5 separate regions of the Homo sapiens genome follow, and all the other regions are linked to region 4. Evidence: promoter capture Hi-C in 16 types of primary human blood cells and fetal thymus (Javierre and others, 2016). All regions are on one chromosome and are shown on one strand. Each heading gives the region's core, a stretch centred on a gene start or on the middle of the fragment in contact. The rest is flanking DNA. Distances are from core to core; before and after follow the strand shown.

Region 1 (2,700 bases), core at 66-2,565, 290 kb after region 4:
TTATTGAATACTTACTCCATGCCAGGTACTGTTATTAGCCTGTTAAAGTTATTAAATCATTTAACTATCACAACAGTGTGATAGTTAGGATAATTGTTCAACAAAAATTCACTCCCCTCTGTCTCTCCCTAGGGGCGTACGCTTCTCTCTCCCATTGACCAGCTTTGGCCAATAGGACTTCCCCTTTAATTCTCCTCTTTGCCATCAGAACATGCCTTATGTAGCCGGTGGCCCAAAGAAGATGAAAGACAAATGGAGAAGACCTGTGTTTAATCCACAGCTCAGAGCCAAGCCTAGCAAGCCCCACCTAGATAAGCCAAACCCAAGCCTCCTCCTCCCCAGCCTCTCTCCAGATGCATGAATGAAAAAAACAATAGTTGTTGTTGATGTTACTAAGTCTGGGGGTGGTTTGTTCTATAGCAATAACTGACTAAGACCCACGGGTACTACGAGAACTCCCTGTTTACATATTTAAAAAACTGAGGCACGGGGAGATTCAGTAACTGACATGTGTTCACAAAGCAAGTTAGCGACAGCAAAAATTTGAACCCAACCAGTCTGGTTCCAGCACCTATCATCATACAATAGGGGTGGGGAATCTTAAAGAACAAATCCCAAAAGCTTGTTAACATAACAAACCAAAAGAGGCAAATAACAGCTTCGTTTATGTCCAAAGTCAACAACAGATAGCACCTCCAAGCCAGAACCTGAACATGTTGGGAAAATACCAAGATTGACATGAGCTGAAAGAAGAGGTTTCATTCTCAGTAGAGCTTCAAGGACTCTTCCCAGAGAAGGGGCACAGTTCCACAGAGAGGAGTTCAGAGAGCAGCAGGGCCAGCGCCAGTGGTCATTAACAGTTGTGGAACATGATGAAGTTCATGGCCACCCTCTGGTAAGATGTCACTCATGGTATGTGTCCCCATCCAGCCTCCTGAGGAGGAGAGAAGGAGACAATGGGTCAGGGGAAAAGGAGAGCAAGAAAAGGAGGTAGTTTACATATGAGAGATAGAAGGAAGCTGTCTACCCTGCACTGCGGAATTCCTTTATTAAAAGAACTTTGGTTTGAGCGGGGTGGCTCATGCCTATAATCCCAGCAGTTCAAGAGGCGGAGGTGGGAGGATAGCCTGAGCCCAGGAGTTTGAGACCAGCCTGGGCAACATGGCAAAACTCTGTCTCTACAAAAAAAAAAAAAAAAAAAAAATTAAAAATGAGCCGAGCGTGGTGGCATGTGCCTGTAGTTCCAGCTAGTTGGTAGGTTGAGAAGGGAGGATCCACTTGACACTGGAAGGTTGAGGCTGCAGTGAGCCATGACCTCGCCACTGCACTCCAGTCTGGGAGACAAAGCAAGATTCTGTCTCAAAAAAAGAAAAAAAGAAACCCAACTTCATGAATATCACGTTGTGAGTCCCCTGTGTTTATTTCAGTGTCCTTGATGAGCCAATAGAGTAATCAAGGCACAGAAGAGGGATGTGGCTTACACCAGATAAAATAATACTGAGTAATTTTCTGAGTCAATAGGAATCCAGATCTCTCCAGAGTCCTGGACCAAGCATAGTTTGAGGATGCCATTTGACATCTGAATGTGAGCACTAGAAAGGCCCTTTGGCTTCCTGGGGTCCAAGTTCTGAGAGATGGGGAGATGAGGAGACCCAGAAGGGCCAATGACTGGTCAAAGCCACATGCAAAGCCCACCAGGTTACTCTACGGATTGGAGATATCTGTAGCGATATCTCTTAAAATTTCTATGCCCTCTTGTCTCCCTCGTCACCCCTATGGTTCTCCCACCCTTTCCTCTAACACCCTGAAAAACTTCTCCTGAACCCTAAATAGAGGGCTTCTTGTTCATTTCTTTCTCCTCCTTTCTTTTTGATTCTATATCCCTAAGTTCTTCCAAAAACCTAGTCAAGAATCAAGAAAACCTGATTAGATGACAGCAGGAAAGCAAAGGCCAGGAACACCCATTCATGAATAAATTTGGCTTGCTCTTACCCAAAGAATAAGCTTCAGTTTATAGCCTCTCCTTTTAGTTCACCTAATGTTCCGTCCTCATTCTCTCCTCCCAATACACAGCTTCGGGGTGATTCTACCATAAAGTGAACCAGGCAATTGCTTATGCCCCAAAACCCCACTCATCCACAATTAACACTCCTCAGGCTTGAGTCACGATGGCAGAAGGATGTATTAGTTCCCACATACACACTTCTACTTTACCCAAATAAGTGTGTTTGTGTGAAGGCTACACCACAAATGTGCATATGCAGCTGGGCATCCTTTCAAGGGAAACATGGTGCTCAGGGATGTTTTATCTAGAGAATCCATTGAACTTGACATTGTCAGAAATTTATTTAGGACAAATGCAAACTAGCAGGAACTGTGTAAAATATTCAGCACACAACATGAGTTGGACACAATCAGGTACCCCTGCCGCACCCTTGAGAATCTGGCTTGTGGATGCTCTTCCAACACTGGGACCGTTTGACCACAGGTAAATTCAGCTCATAGAGGTCATCATTGCCTGAGCCAAGCCTGTCACACAAAGTGGTCTGTCTGAACTGGCTCTCAAAACTCACTAACCAGACTGTGCTTCCAGTTGATATGGCATTTTGTAGGCAGCATAGATCAATTGGAAAAGTGAATTATTCCCGGTTAGTGACTAATAATAAGATAATAACATTATAACCACCTCCCAAAAAATGT
Region 2 (2,700 bases), core at 58-2,557, 360 kb after region 4:
ACTTTTTTTTTAGTATGCCAGGCGTAATGTCACTATCTCAAACTTGAGTTAGGAAAGAGAAACATTAAAGGACAGGGGGTAAGTTTCCTCGGCTAATGCTCAACAATACCCATAAAATAGTTATTTCTCCATAAAATGGGAAAAAAGAAATACATATATAACCATGGAAAGATATTTCCCAGATATAGGCTTGCTCTTAAATATTTCACAGAAATCTTTACAAAATCAAGTCAAGCCAATATTTTCTATAGCTTTTGGGGTGGGTGAGCTCAGCACATAATTTTAATTGTTCCAGATTATGTCTATCCCCAACTTCCTTTGTGTCTGTTTCAAGCTTTGATTTCAACCTAATGTTGTTCAATCTTTAGCATAAATTAACGCGAAGGATGTTCTATCCAAAAAAGTCTGACTCTATGCAGGTAATTTTATATTAAAATATGCATTTGACTTTTAAAGTTTGGATACACATGGCTGCTTCTTATAATGTTTCTTTTCACATTTGTTTATGGAAATGGAAGTTGAATGAAGGGGAGGGTGCAAAAGTGAAAGAAGAAACCCTTTATGTGCATTTCCCATTATGAGATTCCTGTAGCTCTAGAGATATAATGTTTCACAAAGTGATTTAGTATCCATAAATGCCAATTTGCAGAGCATTATCCATTGCCGTCAAGGAAGAAAATATATTCTCCCTCTCCCTGCCCAATAAGTAAACTTTGAAAACAATTACAAGCACATGTAATAATAATACAGAAACTAGCATTTCTTTTTTTTTTTTTTTTTTTTTTTTTTTTTTGAGACAGAGTCTTGCTCTGTCGCCCAGGCTGGAGTGCAGTGGCGCGATCTCAGCTCACTGCAAGCTCCGCCTCTGGGGTTCATGCCATTCTCCTGCCTCAGCCTCCCAAGTAGCTGGGACTACAGGCACACGCCACAACGCCTGGCTAATTTTTTGTATTTTTAGTAGAGATGGGGTTTCACTGTGTTAGTCAGGATGGTCTCGATCTCCTGATCTCGTGATCCGCCCGTCTCAGCCTCCCAAAGTGCTGGAAGAAACTTGCATTTCTACAGCAACTTTCCCTGGAGAATTTCTCGGTTGCTTTGCAAACAGTAATTAATTAGACCCCCTAACATTCCTGTGAGGGAGCCAAGAGGTGTGGGTATGCTTTGAACAACCCCCAACACTGACTCGCTGTCACCTCTGGGGTTGATGAACAGATGTTGTTTAAAAACTGCATAGCACACAGAATTCAACATTTTAGAACGTTAATGAAGGACTTAGAATTCTGAGATGCAACAGAGAATTGGATGTGGTGCAGGCTTTGGTCTTGTTATGTGAATTTGATAGAAGGATGAAAGTAACATACTGTTTTCTATGTCATCTGTCATCACAGCATCCAATGGGACTGCACTTATCCTATGGCATGAAGTAACTCTGCCAGGTTCGTCATCCTAGAGATGACCCCATTACCAAGAAATTTTGCCTTAAGGAATATAACCAACTTTAAAAAAACAAAAACAAAAACAAACAAAAAAAACCACTTATATAGGGCTTATTCACCAGGCGCTGTTTTAAGCACTTAGTAACTCATTTGATCCTCACAGCAACTTGTTTTGGGGTCAGTATTATTTTTTATTATTATTATTTCCATTTTACAGGTGAGAAAACTGAGGCATAGAAAGTTTAAGAAATTTGCCAAAGTCATTCAGCCATGCTACCTCTCAGTATTAGCATTACCTGTTAATAAACTTGAACGCTTACAAATTGCCACATTTTCTCAGCTTGATCATGCAGTTTGTCTTCGCAATCTGCTAGAACACTCATGTGATTTACCAGGAGTGGTGAGTCAGTGGCAAGAAGCCAATCTGAAAAGAAAAATAAGCCCCACTTGCTTCAGCACCTTGGAGAGCATCTTCCAACTACTGGCCCAGACAATAGAGCAGCTCTCAAAGACCTAGTGAGGTTCTGCTATAAAGGGGTGAGGCTGAGAACAGGAAGACGTCAAGCTAATGGGGATTGTTGCTCCTCCTTTCTCTTACAAAGATCATGCTTTTATGATGACAGAATTAGGTGTAGGATTTTCAGGCCAGTTTTAGCCCAGTTCAGCTGGAGCCTGGGACCTCACAGCTCTGGTTTTCCCATTCTTGGGCTATTGGGATGTCTGGGGCCTAAAAGCAGATGAGCTTTATACTTAATATTTAGTCCTCCCGTTGCATATGGGTGTGTCTTTCTTTTTTTTCCCCAAATCCCTTCCAGGAGACTATCTTCCAGGGCAATTAAGCTTTCACCGAGGGACCATTGATGTACTTTTTCAGTTTGCCCATAACAGAGGCAGTGAAGTTCATGGTTAGAACAGAGCTCTGAGTTTAGACTGCCTGAGAATTTCTCTCAACTCTGCCATTTTCCGGATGTAACCTTGGGCAAGGTGCTTAGCTTTATTAAGCCCCAGTTTTTTCATCTGTAAAATGGAGCTAATAATGGTAACTGAGTCATGAGATTGTCCTAAGGCTTAAATAAGGTAATATGGTTAGAAAACACATTTTATCATGAGAAGAAATAGGGACTGTGGTGATGCCCCTTCTTGAACAATAAGATTCATGTAACTGACATACGTTCCCTCTCTGCTTTGGCTGTCAGGGAGCTTCGGTTGCACAGAGTAGCATTAGCAACACTGTGAGATGCTAAGACCTGCCCATTGGTGTTTC
Region 3 (2,700 bases), core at 57-2,556, 430 kb before region 4:
TGCACCAATGCTAATTTCTTAATTTTGACAAAGGTACCACGGTTATATAAGATGCTGGCTTCAGGGGAAGCTGGGTGAAGGGTATCCGGGAACTCTCTGTGCTATCTTTGCATTGTTTCCATAAATCCAGAATTATTCCAAAATAAAACATGTATTTTTAAAAAGTCCCTGCGCTGCTGCTGTTGCTGTTGTCTGGCCAGGGTCCCTCCCAGTTCCTCTGCTGACAGGTCCTCTCCCTGGTTACAAGGGCAGGGGTACCTGACCCAGGCTGGGTCACCCTGGCCACAGCAATTGGTCCAAGGGATAAGCATGTGACCCACGCTGGGCCAATCAGAGTCCTTTCCTAGAATTGTTCAGCTTGGAATGGGAAGAGAAGCTCTTCCCACTCTGGCCATGAATCTGTCAGGCCGTAAGTCTGGGCCTGTGGAGGCTCCTGGTTCTCCTGCAGCAGGGACAGTGGGCCTGAGAGAACTACAGCACAAAGAGAGGATGTTGATGGCATTCAAGATGGCCTCCTCCTCCTTCCCAGTCTTCCTCAAGGCAGCCTGCCCTGTTATGGGAGTCAAGATATCACCTTTGAGTGTAATCCAGTTCAAACTGGTTTAAGTTGGGTTTCTGTCACTTACAACCAATGAGTCCTGGGGACTGATGACATCCCCTCAGGTTGTCATGAGGACATGGCGGCATATCTACAACCTGGCACAAGGGAGCCGCTCCTACGTGGTGAGGGGTCTTGTTATCCTCTCCAAGGAGTCTGGGGACTGCCCTGGACTCCAGCCTGCATGGCTGTGGCCCTGACACAGGCTCCCCTCCTGGTCCCACTCAGCCCCTGGTAGGAAGGAGAGGTCCCACTTCAAAGGAGCCCGCCTGGCTCACAAATCCCTTCCCATCTCCAGGCCCTGCTCCAGCCTTCTCCTCTGGGTGTGGGGAGCTGGGGTCTTGGCTGTGACCAGAGCTGGGTCTATGGCGGAAGAGAGGGGAAGTCCCTATCACCGCCCTGGCCAGACCTGGCAGAACTAAGGCACAGCTAGGTGTCAGATGCCAAGGCTGTGCCAGTGCTTGCTCTGAGAATGAGTTGTGATGGGCCATGTGAGCTGGAGTTCCATGGCCTCCAAGCATGAGGGCAGACAGAAAGCAGGAGATGAGAGAAAATGGGGAGATTTTGGAGAAACCAGTCAGAACTACCGGAAGGATCTGAGTGAGACCAAGGCCTCTTCTGTGGCCTGCTCTTACTGCCCCCTCTCAAATCTTCCTCCACGCCTTGCCCCTTCCAGGCGCCCTGCCTGCGTGCTCCTCCCACCTGTCAGGCAGGTTCCTGGAGCATCTCTTCTTGTGTGAAGATTTCCTTTGCCCAGTGCCCACCCCTGGTCCCTAGGGCAGAGCCGAATTCACCAGCCTTCCTGTTCACCCATCCGTTTTCTCTCCTCATGCTGGCCACTCCCTCTTCTTTTCTTCCTTCGTTTGTTCACGCAGGCATACACTTGATCATTTTCCTTAGCAAATATTTTTGGAGTGCCATCTGCATGCCAGACCCTGAGCACGCAAAGGTGAATGGGACCCACCTGCCTTTGCTTCTGTGGCAGTGAGGGAGAGAGGAGGGGCTAGGTTTAGCAGGCAGAGCTGACAGGAGCCCAGGTGGCATCCAGGTGGCATTCAGGTAGCATCTGGGATTTGAGCCTGAGTAACTTGGTAGCAGCCACACAAACCCTCCCTTTGCCATGGAGTCTTGGGAATATATACAATGCATCCCCCTCCCCAGGGACCGTCAGTCCCCCAGATTCTACAGTGAGAGAACCTCAGGAAAGGCATGACTCTGGGAAGTGACAAGCGATTGTAGGGCTAAGAATGGGGCTTTGAGCCTAAAATATCCCCAGCGTCTCGTGGCCACAGCCTGGCTGCATCAGCAGGAAAGCCTGGGGGAATCATCGCCTCTTCTTCACTGTGTGATCCTGGTCAAATTGCTTAGCATCTCTGAGCCTCTGCAGTCAAATGAGAATAACAGAAGTACCTCGTAGATTGTTGTCATTATTCACAGAGACTTTAATTCATGTAGAGCACATGGCACCAAGCCTGAAGGAGAGTAAACACCTCCTTTTTGAGCTATTATTACGATTTTAGGAAGAGTGTGGCCAGGTTGCAGAAAACTCCAGATGCCAGCGTAAGGAGCTGGCGCTTTACCCTGTGGAGTCAGAGACCAGAAGTTTTTGAGCAGAAAAAAGAACATGAAGAAACCAGCCAGTCAGCTCCTTTCTAGCCCCTACAGCATCTGGAACCTCGGAGCCGGCAGCAGGTCAGCAGTGACAAGCCCAGCCATGAGGCCGGTGACCTCCAGCTCCCAGGAGCTGCCGGCTGCCCCAGTTCCGGACCCAGGCAGCAGCCTGCCCCCACCCCCAGCATCTCCCTGGAGGGAGCCAGATAGATGGTTTAATAATGCAGGCTGCCGGGCTGACCTCGTAGCCGCTGAGCCAGCTGAGGCTAACTCCGCTCCCCCTGCTGTGGCTCCCGCAGAATTCCAGAGCTCCCTGCAAGGGTGCTCAGATCCAAATGGCAGCCACACAATAGTGCGGGGTGCAGTGGCCTCTGGCTAGGGGACAGAATAAGTCAGGCAGATGCAGAGATCTGAGCCTTCCTTCCTCCTCCTCCAGCTCTCCCTGGGGGTGTCTCAGAGGAGTCTCCTGGTTCAGAGAGCTGAGAGGAGGC
Region 4 (2,700 bases), core at 111-2,610:
TAGCAAGGAACTGAGGATGGCCTCTGGCTGACAGCCAGAGAGAGCCTGAGACCCTCAGTCTAACAGACTGCAAGGAACTGAATCCTCCCACAGCCACATGAGCTTGGAAGCATATTCTTCCCTAGTGGAACCTCAGATGAGACTGCAGCCCTGGCCAATACTTGGATTGTAGCCTGCTAAGACCCCAATGCAGAGAACTCAGCTAAGCCATGAGTAGACACCCGACCCAAAGAAACTGTGAGATAACAGTTGTATGTTAAGCTTCGAAGTTTATGGCAAGATTGTCGTGCAGCAATAGATAATACTTAGGCAAGAGATGAGGGTGGCTTGGACCAGGGAGTAGGGGGAGTTGTGGAGGTGGACGAAGGCATCCAAATCTAGTGTACTTCGAAGGACTTGCTGATGGGTTGCTTGCGGAAGTAGCTTAGAGTTTTGTGATGTCTCTCTCTGTGCAAGGCAATGTGCTACATTTTGCAAAAAATTGTTTTATTCGCCCATCACCCTTATCCTTAGTGTTGGGTGATATCTGTTTCACATGTGAAGGAAGTTCAGCTAAAGGACTTGGCCAGTCTCTTATCTAATAAGTGACAGGCCCAGATTCTGGGGACTCCAAGTTTAACCACAGCACTCTCTGTTTCCTGGGGAAATCCTGAAAGGCTGGGCTTGCAGGAGGCGTTCACTATACCCACTCTTTGTCCAGGCTGAGCAACAGCCAGACAGGAATGGGCCAGTGCTGGCACCAATGACTTCTGCCTCCTTCTTCTCTGCAGAAAAGAAGTCACTTAATTTTGTTGATCTCCTTCTGTAGCCCTTGTTGTTTAGGAATAGGAGAGAGGACCCTTCCTTTAGTTTTACTCCCAGGTCCCTGATCCCTGGGTGTCCAAATCAGACAGCTCCAGATGCATCTTTCTCCTTCCCCATTGACCTCGACCTACATTTATGCTGTTATACACATCCATGCCTTTAATATTCTCATCCCTTCAAAACTGTTAAGTTCCTAGGCATCCTTCAAGATCCAACTCAAATGGCTCTTTCATAAGTCCTTCCTCCTTTTTCCTACACAGAGCTAGTTCTTCTCCCTACTTAGTGCTTTGAGCTCCCAAGAACATCTTTTGCACTTGGTAGCATCTGAGCCCCCTGTGCCTGGCACACCTGGCATGTAGTGGGGGCTCAACTGACATTCTAGAGTGGATGAGAGAGTGAACAATAATTGAAGCCCCTCCTGCCTTTTCCTGGCCTCAATCCTGGCTTTCTCCTGGCCTCTTTTCCCTACGGGTGGGCCTATCAGCCCTCTGAGGTAACAGAGCCCTGTGTATAGTGATCACCATGGCAACTCCAATGAACATCTTGGGGAGGGCCACTTCCCAGCAACCATCCATTGGTCTTCACCAGTAGTTCTGCAGTGGGGATCTGCACTTCTGGGCTTCAGCACACATCAGTGTGGTTCACGTGTTTCCTGCTGTTATGAAAGAGATTGGAGAGGTGAGGCAGAGACTTATGAAGGGCCAGGGTTCTTCCAGGACATGGGGTTTCATCTTCCTTCTCCCCATTCAGAGTTGCTTGTGAGTGAAGACTGCCTAGACTGGACTTACCTTCCCGCCCTCTTTGACCAAAGTCTCTTGGGATCTCTCTCTCTGGGTCAGAAACTGGAAGTGAGTCCACACTTCCATTGTAGCCCGTCCAGACTGCTGTGGACTGGCAGTGCACTGGGACGTACAGAGCTGCCGTGGGCACGTCAGGTTGGTGGCTGGGGATAGGAGGAGAAAGAAAACTTGGAGCTAACTTGAACTTCACCTAGCTTGAAGATGTGCAATTTAATTTTAGCCCCACCTGGTGAAGTCCTGTGTCTTTTCGGAGCCTCATTTTCTCCATCTGTGAAAGAAGATAAATTAGTAGTGTCTCCGAACACCTTACTGGGTATTTGTGAAGACCAGACTAATTTACCAGATGTGAGAATGCTTGACATGGACTTGTGTTAGTTATCTCTTGCTGCACAACAAATCACCCCAAAACTTAGTGGGCTTAAGACAACATTTACTATCTCACAGTTTCTGTGAGTTGGGAATACCGGTGGAGTGTTGGTGATTTTTCTGTCCCAGGGTCTCTCACAGGCTGCAATCAAGGTGTTGCTTGGGTCTCTAGTCTCATCTCAAAGCTCGACCAGAGAAGGAACCCATTCACATGGCAGGATCCAGCTACTCTGGAGCTGTTGGCAAGAGGCCACTCTGAGTTCCTTGCCCTGTGGACCTCTCCATAGGGCATCTCACAACAGGGAAACTGGCTTCTGTCAGAGAAGATGAGCTGAGGAGAGCTGCAGAGAGTGTGTGAAAAAGACAGAAGTTGTAGTCTCTTATAAGTTCATCATGGATGCAACATCCCTCATTTTTGCCACATTCCATTCATCACTATGTCCAGTCCACACCAAAGGGGAGAGAATTATACCAAGAAACAGGGATCATTGGGAGCCATGTCAACTGCCTGCCACTCTCTGCCCTCTGGCCCCCAATAATGTACATCCCTTCCACATGCAAAATATAGTCATCCCCTCCTAAGATCTTTAAAATTCTCATCCTATTAAAGCATCAGTTTAAAAGCTAGAATCTGGTCATATAAATCAGCTCCAGGTGTGGCTGAGGCTCCTCCAGTGTCGTTCCTTAAGTACAGCTTCTCAGATTCAATTCTTCCCCATCATAGATCTGT
Region 5 (2,700 bases), core at 190-2,689, 330 kb after region 4:
AGGTGCTGCATCAGTTACTTTTAGGCCCTAAGCACTAAACCAACAGAAAGAAGGTGGAGGGATGAAGACAAACTAAAAGGGAAGAGCCATGGAAATACAACCAACAAGCAAAAGAAAATGATCCATCGATTAATAGGCAGAGAGATGAACAGATAGATGATAGATAGATCTTTAGCTTCTAACTTACTCGTGAAAAAGATACAAATTCTTAGAATAATAAAAAAAGAATAATTTTTCTGTTTTTCATTCTCATTCTTTTTAATGGATAAATGTATAAATAAAGAAGTTGACAGGAAAAGAAAAGAATCTGAGACATAAAGGCCAGAATCAGAGTTTTTCAGATGTGCTGCTGGTGGTGGTGATGATGGTGATGGTGGTGGTGGTGATAGTGATGGTGATGGTGGTGGTAGTAATTGTAACCATGATGCAGGTGGCAGTAATCATGAAGGTGGTGGTGATTGATGGTGACAATAACGGTTGTGATAAAGATGGTGGTGATGAAAGTGGTGGTAGTGGTGGTGGTGATGGTGATGGTAGTGGTGATGGTGATGGTGGTAGTGGTGATGGTGGTGGTGGTGGCAGTGATCATGAAGATGGTGGTGATGGTGGTGATAATGATGGTGGTGTTAGTGGTGGTGATGGTGGTAGTAATTATAGCCATGATGCAGGTGGTGGTGATCATGAAGGTGGTGCTGATGGTGGTGGTAGTAATTGTAACCATGATGCAGGTGGCAGTGATCATGAAGGTGGTGATGATTGATGGTGGTAATAATGACTGTGATAAAGATGGTGGTGATGAAAGTGGTGATGGTGATGGTGGTGATGGTGGTGGTGGTGATGATGGTGATGATGGTGGTAGTGATGGTGGCAGTGATGGTGGTGGTAATGGTGATGATGGTGATGATGGTGGTAGTGATGATGGTGATGGCGGTGGTAATTATAGCCATGATGCAGGTGGCAGTGATCATGAAGGTGGTGGTGATGGTGGTGATGGTGGTGGTGTTGATGATGGTGATGGTGGTGGTGATGATGGTGGTGGTAGTGGTGGTGACAGTGATGGTGGTGGTAGTGATGGTGGTGGTAATGGTGGTGACGGTGATGGTGGTGGTAGTGATGGTGGTGATGGTGGTGGTAATTATAGCCATGATGCAGGTGGCAGTGATCCTGAAGGTGGCGGTGATGGTGGTGATAATGATGGTGGTGGTAGTGATGCTGATGGTGGTGGTAGTAATTATAGCCATGGTGCAGGTGGTGGTGATCATGAAGGTGGTGGTGATGGTGATGATAATGATTGTGATGCAGGTGGTGATGATGAAGGTGGTGGCAGCAGAGATGGTGCTTGTGATGATAACAGGGATTGTTATCATCCGAATAACTACCATTTGGAACAACTCTTCACGGTGTCCAAAACCTTTAACGTGTATTACTTCATTTTAGAAGAAAAATTCTGAATTTTTCAAAACAACAACTATTTCTAACCAAGTTCCACCGTGAGTGTCACCAAAACTCAGCCAAGTTAAGAGAACAGGGAGAGCTGGAGTGGGCTCTTTCTCCATCACACGTAAGTGGGCAGTGACCTAGGGAGGAACAGTTACAAAAACGAGAGCAAGGCTACAAAAGCTCTCTCCAGTCTTCCCTCAACCAATCGCCTCCAAGTCTATTCACCCAAATCAGTCCCCAACGTTGATAGAACTTAATACCCTTTCACCTGAAAACTGTTTAGTAGATTTCATATGCATAACTGATTGTAATCTGGTTCCTAGTGGATAAATAAAAATCATTTGTGATCATTGAAACGTATTTATTTTTTAATTAGGTAGCAGCCATGAATGAAGAGCCCTCAGAGAGCCATCTCCTATAACCTCTCCAGGAGCCCTACTGACATAGAAAGGGCAGCATTCAGTGGCCGGTACATTTGCTCCTGCCCATGTTTTCTTATAAAGGACTTTAACCCCTGACTGACAGCCCTACCACACTTCACCGGAACTCATCACATGTCCTTTTTTAAAGAAAAGAAAGAAAGAAAGAAGGAAAGAAAGAAAGAAAGAAAGAAAGAAAGAAAGGAAGGAAGGAAGGAAGGAAGGAAGGAAGGAAGGAAGGAAGGAAGGAAGGAAGGAAGGAAGGGAGAAAATCCAAAATGCTGGCAGATAAGCTGCCAACAAAATGATTTCTTTAAAGAATAAACTAATAACTGAGTATCAGTTAAGGCACAGCCAGCTGTGACGTTTCCTCTGGCCATGCCAGGGGCTGCAGTAACTACCTACTCAGTGCTGTGCTGCGAGCATTGATTGGGAGCATTGGCTGTGTCAGAGGGCTTGACATTCCAGCAATGACACAAACCACGTGTCCTTGGGAAGACGGTGTGCGATGAGATGGATGAGCCAAGTAGGGTTTGAGAAGTGGGAAAATTAGGTCAAATCCCTGTGAATGTACCCAGGGAAAGAAGAGGCTGCTGCCGAAGGGAAGCTGTGTCCTTGGTGTTTTTAGAGAAGGGGGTGGTGTCCTAGGTGCAAGAAGAGAAGGTAACCATGGTGGCTCCTGGCCATCGTGGGGAAATGGAGGGGGAACAGGTGTGAGTGACTGGCATGGGGGTGGAAATGAGGTCATATCCGTAGTGTGGGAGCTGTAGGGGGAATGTTATCGCATGTGCTGGGGGAAGGATGGAGGCAAATTGGGTCACGTCTTTGTGGAAATGATGAG

What was found. Contacts are between HindIII fragments. The CHiCAGO score rates a contact against its expected background, and 5 or more counts as called.
Region 1: a fragment that was not itself captured here is called in contact with the fragment with the promoter of CIMIP4 in region 4 in 2 of 17 cell types (endothelial precursors and M0 macrophages); the score reaches 6.4 in endothelial precursors.
Region 2: a contact is called between a fragment that was not itself captured here and the fragment with the promoter of CIMIP4 in region 4, in 3 of 17 cell types (endothelial precursors, M1 macrophages and M2 macrophages). The highest score is 6.4, in endothelial precursors.
Region 3: a fragment that was not itself captured here is called in contact with the fragment with the promoter of CIMIP4 in region 4 in 2 of 17 cell types (total CD8 T cells and activated CD4 T cells); the score reaches 5.8 in total CD8 T cells.
Region 5: a fragment that was not itself captured here is called in contact with the fragment with the promoter of CIMIP4 in region 4 in 1 of 17 cell types (endothelial precursors); the score reaches 5.2 in endothelial precursors.

Annotation. Positions count from the first base shown.
Region 1 is chr22:36,719,150-36,721,849 of GRCh38, reverse strand. All of the region lies in intron 1 of CACNG2-DT (CACNG2 divergent transcript), which reads right to left. Among named protein-coding and RNA genes, the nearest start is that of CACNG2-DT, 17 kb to the right of the region's middle. The HindIII fragment of the contact is 1,383 bases long and covers 624-2,006 here.
Region 2 is chr22:36,643,630-36,646,329 of GRCh38, reverse strand. All of the region lies in intron 1 of CACNG2 (calcium voltage-gated channel auxiliary subunit gamma 2), which reads left to right. Among named protein-coding and RNA genes, the nearest start is that of CACNG2, 59 kb to the left of the region's middle. The HindIII fragment of the contact is 1,942 bases long and covers 337-2,278 here.
Region 3 is chr22:37,433,752-37,436,451 of GRCh38, reverse strand. No RefSeq gene overlaps it. Among named protein-coding and RNA genes, the nearest start is that of ELFN2, 7.6 kb to the right of the region's middle. The HindIII fragment of the contact is 6,818 bases long and covers 1-2,700 here.
Region 4 is chr22:37,006,511-37,009,210 of GRCh38, reverse strand. It overlaps CIMIP4 (ciliary microtubule inner protein 4), which reads left to right and starts at 1,360. Exons shown (of 6, transcript NM_001163857.2): 1 at 1,360-1,482. The HindIII fragment of the contact is 2,868 bases long and covers 264-2,700 here.
Region 5 is chr22:36,678,561-36,681,260 of GRCh38, reverse strand. The region is part of intron 1 of CACNG2 (calcium voltage-gated channel auxiliary subunit gamma 2); the gene reads left to right. Among named protein-coding and RNA genes, the nearest start is that of CACNG2, 24 kb to the left of the region's middle. The HindIII fragment of the contact is 4,632 bases long and covers 1-2,700 here.